Linked DNA regions of Homo sapiens: region 1 is linked to region 2. Evidence: promoter capture Hi-C in human tissues and cell types (Jung and others, 2019). All regions are on one chromosome and are shown on one strand. Each heading gives the region's core, a stretch centred on a gene start or on the middle of the fragment in contact. The rest is flanking DNA. Distances are from core to core; before and after follow the strand shown.

Region 1 (3,678 bases), core at 991-3,490, 230 kb before region 2:
AAGTCCTAAAAAGTAGGGATTGTCGTAAGATTACTTTATCATAATGTAATAAAACATAGCTGTTTTGTTAAACAGACCAAGTTCAATAGGCTATAAGTAGAAAATAGGCTTATTCTTTCCCCTGCTGTTCTGTATAGTTTATTACTTCCTCAATCCCTGGACGAAATTTTAGGTGTGTCCCATAACTTTTCCAGTCATCATTGGATAACACAAATAATTCATCAGTCATTTTCAATGTGTGCTAGGAAAAGACATATGAAACTTCTAAATACTCCTAATTTATAATTTTTCATATAAATGGAGCAAAAGTCCTATTTAAGCTCACTTGAAGGAGCAGGTTACAAAGAGAAACATAACTTTGTTTTAGAGTGTCATATAGAGCTTTTTAAAAATCAGCTTTGCTGAGAAATAATAATTTACATACAATAAAATTTAGCAATTTTATTTCTACAATCTAGTTTCACTGAAATTTTTTTGAGATAATTGTAATTAAATTACAATTATCACTGAAAAATTTCACTGAAATTTTTTTGAGATAATTGTAAAAATTGTCTTACACATGCAGTTGTAAGAAATATTACAGAGAGATCCTATATACCCTTAACCAGTTTTCCCCTAGTTGTAGCACTAATGATCCACTAATGATTGTGATAATACAACATCATAACCTGGATATTGACATTGATAACACCCCACTGATCTTGTGTAGTTTTCCCTGATACTCACTTGTATGTGTATATTTAGTTCTATACAATGTCATCACATGTGTAGGTTGGTGTATTTATACCATAGTCAAGATACTGAAGAGTTCTATCGCTACAAGGACCCCTCATGCTGTCCTTTTATAACTACACCCATACTCCCCCCAGCATACACACACTGAGTTTTCACAAATGTACACAGTTATATAATCATCTTCACAACTTTAATAAAAATATTTCTAACCCAGAAAGTTCCCTTACACCCTTTGCAATCAATTTACTCTCTCTCATTCTGCACCCTAGGCAACCACTGATCTGCCTTCTATAACTGTAGTTTTACCTTTTCTAGAATTTCATGTAAATTTAGTCAACATAATGCTTTTGACATTCACTCACGTTGTTGCAAGTATCAGTAGTTCATTCCTTTTATTGCTGAATAATAAAAAGAATGGATATATCACATCTTACGTATCTCTTCATCAGTTCACAGATGTTTAGCTTATTTTTAGCTCTTCGTCATTATGAACAAAGCTATAAATATTCAAGTCCTCTTGTGAACATGATTTCATTTCTCTTGGCCCAGTAGTATGATTGCTCTATGGTAAGCATATATTTCATTGTGGATAGTTTCTAAGGCTATAGCTTCAAGTTCACTGATTTTTCCTTCTTCAGAATCTAATCTCATATTACTACCATCTGTGTGTATGTGTTTCATTTCAGATATTATATTTTTCACTTCAAGAAATTCCATTTGGAGCTTAAATTTTACAAACTTCCATTTCACTCTTCATCCTGGTCATTTTCCTCTACCTTCTTGACCCTGTGAGTCATAATAGCTGTTTTAATGTTCTTGTCTTCTAATTCTATAATTTCTATTACTTATTGGTTTGTTTCTACTAATTAGTTTTCCATCCGGTTGTAACCCACATTTTCCTATTTCTGTGCTTGCTGCCCAAGGGAGCACTTCGGTGCTGGATATTGCAAATTTTACCTTGTTGGTTGCTGAATTTTATTATATCCCTTTAAATACCATTGGACTTTGTTCTGGAGCATGAATCAATTGTATCCTTTTGAGGGTGACAGAGCAGCTTTTAGGGTAGGGTTAATTTGGCCTCACTAATAAGGCTGAGAATCCTACTCAGTATCCCGCGTGGTAGGAGGTCTTTCCACTTGAGTTGGGGAGAACATGAAAAATTCTCAGCTCTGTGTGAGCTCCAGGAACTATTCTGGAGACTCCTTGGCTGGAAACAGACATATTTGTTTAGGATTTTAAAGCACCACATTAAATGCAGAAACTGTAAAGTAAAAGAGTGATACATTTGACAACATAAAAATCTAAAACCTCTTCCTTGGGTTTCCTCTAGAATTCACTTCACTTCAGCTGTTGTTTCTAATTGATTTGAGGCCGGTTGGTAGAAGGAGAGTAACTGTGGGTGCAGAGGAGGCCCAGGGCCTGGGTCTGGGGCCAGGTCTGCCTCTCACTGTGTGACTTCAGTCCCCTCTGAACTTCAGTCTTCTGACCTGGAAAATAGGGGACTGGATAAGCTGTTCCCGGAAGTACTTCCAGTCCTGATACAGCCCACCCACCAACCAGGTAGTATCCATTTCTTGCTCATCTCTTTGCCTCCGTGATATCCAACTCTCAGGGACTGCACTCCACCCCAAAGCAGCCTTCTTAGTCCTTTTTCCCTTTTTAAATATAATTTAGTTTTTATTTGATTTATGGACTCAGTCCCAGTCACTAAACTTCATTCAGCTTGGATGCCTTATTGATTTTCAATAACAGTAGAGCAGAAAAATAAAGAGATGACAGCAGCACTTGGCTGCAGACCCAGGGCCGGCCATGGGAGGCAGGAATTAATCATCTCAGGGGTGATCACTCAGGCTGTCCCTGGCAGGGCAGCAACTCAGGGAGCTCAGCCAGCCTGGGACAGCGCAGCAAGCCACGCGATGATCGTCTGCTTGTGACAACAAGAGCTCAGCAGACTGTCCCATCTGGGTTCTAATCCCAGCATTACTGGAGGTAAGTATTTGCTCACCTCTAGAGACAAGGAGCTAGAGGGAAGCTGCACTATTTGGATCGACAGGGAGGAGGAGATGGCCATGTACAAAAGTGCCAACATTAAGTAAGTAAATGCAAAGACAAACTGGTGATAAAAGATGAAAGGGATGTCGAGGTCCTGGCTATGTATGTTGATTTCAGCATGGCTTCTCCTGGCTGCCTGCAGCAGCTAAAATCAGTTAAGACTGATCTATGGCTTCCCTAAAGAAGTGCACCAAGCTTTCTTTGGCCTCTCAGGTTCCAATTTGGCGTGGCCAGATCCTGACTGTGTGACTTTGGGCTGGTCACCTTATTGCCCTAATGTTTTACTACAAATGCATTTAAGGAGATGTCAAGGGGATTTTCAAAAGGAATTAATGCACTTCAGTATGGCTTCTCCTGGCTGCCTGCAGCAGGTAGAAACAGCAAGACTGATCTATGACTTCCCTAAAGAAGTGCACCAAGCTTTCTTTGGCCTCTAGACCTTTGCATGTGTTGTTCTCTAGATGATAATCCAGCCCTCCCTTTGCCTGGCCAATTCTTGCTTCTCCTTCAGGTCTCAGCTTACTTGTTGCCTCCTCTGGGAAGCCTTTCCTGATTCCCCCGCCCCACACTACCTCTGGCTAGGTACCCCTACCCTGTGCTCTCGCAGGTTCCTATGCTGACCCTGTTATGACATTCATCACACTGCATTACAAGGGTTACATCAACAGTGTAATAGCTCATTGTTACAGCAATAACAATGGTCTGTTTTCTTAACTGCTGCCCCTTCTTAATTCCCACTCTGCCAGGGCAGGGACTGTGCCTACTTTGTTCACTCAGCATGTGGTATATAAGAGGTAGTCAACAAATATTTGCTGAATAGATGATAGTTGAAAAGAATGATTTTCAACATTATTCGGTGATTAAAAAAATACTTATGGAGCACCAGCTCCA
Region 2 (3,399 bases), core at 664-3,163:
TGGAATAACAAATTTGAAGTCAATTTCACTTTACCACTGTGTATGGCTGAGCAGACAGAGGTCAGCTTCAGGATAAGACCGAGTTCAAGTCCTGCTTCTATCACTTCTGTGCTGTGGCCTCAGGCATGAGTCTGGGTGGGTTACAGAGAGGAAGCAGTAACAGCTCTCAGGCCTTCCCTGTCCAAATGTCTCAGATTGAAATCTGAGTTTGACCTCTACTTCCAGCGTGGCCAGAACTATGATGTGATCAAAAGAGCCCCTGGCCTTGCTGTCTGCCCTCACAGTTCCCACTGTTACTACAGGATATGGGAAAAACAGACTCCCCCAAAGCACATCTATAACAGACAGACAGCAAATGCAGATTATTGATTTGGGCTATTGTTTTAGTAAATCAACATTCTTAGAGAATTTCTCAGCTCTCAGGTGCCCACATCTTAGAGTTAAGTCACATTTTGAGGGTTGCCCAGGCAAATTCAAAGCAGCACCAGGCCCTAGTGGCAGCTACTTCATCTTTAGGCAGCATTTCCCTCTCAACAGGGAGCATGCCACCTCCCCTGGGTGCAGATCCCAGGAAAAGTTACACTGACCAAATCAGGCCACTCCCTGGGACTGTTTCCTCAATTTTGGTTAATAATCAAAGGATGATCTGAAATCGCAAAGAAGAGACTCTTGGAAAAGACATAATTATGGTGCCACCCGACTTAGGAACTGGCATCCAAGTCCACCTGTGTGACTTTCCTCTGGGCCTCAGTTTCTCCATCTGTAAAATGAGGTCCTGTATTTATTTTTTGAGACGGAATCTCCCTCTGTCGCCCAGGCTGGAGTGAAGTGGTGTGATCTCGGCTCACTGCAACCTCTGCCTCCCAGGTTCAAGCAATTCTCTGCCTCAGCCTTCCGAGTAGCTGCTGGGATTACAGGTACCCGCCACCACACCCGGCTAATTTTTGTATTTTTAGTAGAGACGGGGTTTCACCATCTTGGCCAGGCTGGTATTAAACTCCTGACCTCGTGATCCACCCGCCTCGGCCTCCCAAAGTGCTGGGATTACAGGCGTGAGACACCGCACCCGGCCGAGGTCCTGTATTAAATGGATCCTTGCCAGCTCCTACAACATAAGGCATTAAATGTTCCCACAACTTGCTCCCCGCCGGCTGGCAGCGAACAGGGCTAAAGCCTCGACTTCCTCAGAGGTGAAAAGGTAAGCAAACATTCCGACCTCCCCTAGCCTTGCTCTCGGATTGGTGCTGGGCCCGGCTCCCACCGCCTATCCCGACCACATCCGTCATCTGGACTGCTAATACACTCATTAGCATAAAGATTCCTCCGAAGACCTGGCGCACGGGGCTGAACCGGAGTCTGTCCCTTTAAGGAAGAGGGACAGCCACTCTGTCCCTAAGGGCACTAGGCACTGCATTTCCTCCACACGGGCCACGCTGTAAACTAGACAGGTTCCGTGTTAATCCACTCTCCCTCCTCAACCCCGACAGGGGGATCCCTGGAGTGAACAACGCGCGGGGTCCCGGGGGACTGCGGAAAGGTTTGGCCTCTGCGCGTAGCAGGCTCCGCCAGGCAACCTCTCGCCCGAGGCGGCGGCGAGCTGCAAGCTAGGTGGAGCCGGCTGCGCGGCGGGACCCCAGCGCCCTGGGGCAAGACCCTGGTGCTGGCGCCAGGGCAGCCGCGGGAGGTGGCGTGTGCAGGAGCGGAGAGGTGCGCCCACCCCGGCCCCGGGCGCGAGGGGGGCGGGGCTTGGGCCGCGGCCCGGGGCCAGGCTCGCGGGGATGGGCGGTGCTGGGTCTGCGGGAGCGGGCGGGGGGCGGGGCGCGCGAGCGGGCTCCGGGGGGGCGGGGCGGCGGCGCGGGGCGGGCTCTGGCGGCCTGAGTGTCACACACGCGGCGGCTCGGGAGGCGGCGGCAGTGGCAGCGACAGGCGCCGCCGGGACGGGCACGGGCGCGCGGGCTCCGGCGGGCGCCGGCTGCCTTCCTCCGTCGCTCGCTGTCTCTCCCGGCCGCATTCTCCTCCGCTGCGGGGCCGAGCTCTCCCCAGCGCTCGCAGGAAGGAAGAAGGGAGCCGAGGACGCCGAGAAGTTCCCGCGGCAGCCGCGGATCCCGGCCAAGGCGGAGGCTGCGGCTCCGACGGGGCAGGAGCGCGATCCACGGCGAGGGGCGTACGGCCAAAGGGTCCGCGGCGTGGAGCGCTCGGACCTTCCGCTCTCCCCCGGGCGTGGGCCGGGACCCCATGAGACGCGCCCACGAGGGGCGCGAGATTCCTAGCTTGGGCGGCGCTAGGCGGAGGGAGGTGTTGCAGCCGCCGGAGCCAGAGAGCTGCCGGCAGGAGGCGGCGGCGGCAAGAACTTGAACTTGGCGTCGGGAGCGGGCGCCCCGGACGCCCCCCGCCGGGGCCGGGGCGCCGAGGGACCTGCGCCGCAGCGCTGCCCCCCGAATGGCCGCGGCGGCGGACCGGGCTCCCGCGCCGCGGCCCTAGGCGGCCTCTCGCCATGGCCAAGTGGCTAAACAAGTACTTCAGCTTGGGCAACAGCAAGACCAAGAGCCCCCCGCAGCCGCCGCGGCCAGACTACCGCGAGCAGCGGCGCCGAGGCGAGCGGCCTTCGCAGCCCCCCCAGGCCGTGCCGCAGGCCTCCTCCGCCGCCTCGGCGTCCTGCGGTCCGGCCACCGCCTCCTGCTTCTCAGCCTCTTCGGGCTCGCTGCCCGACGACAGCGGCAGCACCAGCGACCTCATCCGCGCCTACCGCGCGCAGAAGGAGCGAGACTTCGAGGACCCCTACAACGGGCCTGGCTCGTCGCTGCGCAAACTGCGCGCCATGTGCCGCCTGGACTACTGCGGCGGCAGCGGGGAGCCAGGCGGGGTCCAGCGCGCCTTCTCGGCCTCGTCCGCGTCGGGCGCCGCGGGCTGTTGCTGCGCCTCCTCGGGCGCGGGGGCCGCCGCGTCCTCGTCCTCGTCCTCCGGCTCTCCGCATCTCTACCGCAGCAGCAGCGAGCGGCGGCCCGCCACGCCGGCCGAGGTGCGCTACATCTCCCCCAAGCACCGCCTCATCAAAGTGGAGAGCGCCGCGGGCGGTGGGGCCGGGGACCCCCTGGGGGGCGCCTGCGCGGGCGGCCGCACCTGGAGCCCGACGGCCTGCGGAGGCAAGAAACTGCTCAACAAGTGCGCCGCCTCAGCCGCGGAGGAGAGCGGGGCCGGCAAGAAGGACAAGGTAAGGTGCCCCTTGGCCTCTTCCCGAGGTTCCAGAGCCACGGTGCGCACGGGGAAACCGAGGCACCCGCCGCTCTGGTGTTGAGTCTCTACTTCAGCTTCGGCCTAGGACCCTGGGTCGGGGCTGGCGTGCTGCTTCCCGCTTCTGCCTCCTCCCGCGCCCTTTTCCTGGGACCGGCGGCCTCCTGA

Evidence for each region. The method cuts DNA at HindIII sites, captures the fragments that hold promoters and counts their contacts. A contact is called where the count stands out against the background at its distance.
Region 1: a contact is called between a fragment that was not itself captured here and the fragment with the promoter of SHB in region 2, in 3 of the 25 tissues and cell types used here (liver, lymphoblastoid cells and pancreas).

Annotation. Positions count from the first base shown.
Region 1 is chr9:38,297,618-38,301,295 of GRCh38, reverse strand. No RefSeq gene overlaps it. Among named protein-coding and RNA genes, the nearest start is that of ALDH1B1, 93 kb to the left of the region's middle. The HindIII fragment of the contact is 5,577 bases long and covers 1-3,678 here.
Region 2 is chr9:38,067,741-38,071,139 of GRCh38, reverse strand. It overlaps SHB (SH2 domain containing adaptor protein B), which reads left to right and starts at 1,913. Exons shown (of 6, transcript NM_003028.3): 1 at 1,913-3,211. The coding sequence starts at 2,495. RefSeq lists silencers at 1,503-2,312, 2,733-2,782 and an enhancer at 2,673-3,399. The HindIII fragment of the contact is 6,868 bases long and covers 1-3,399 here.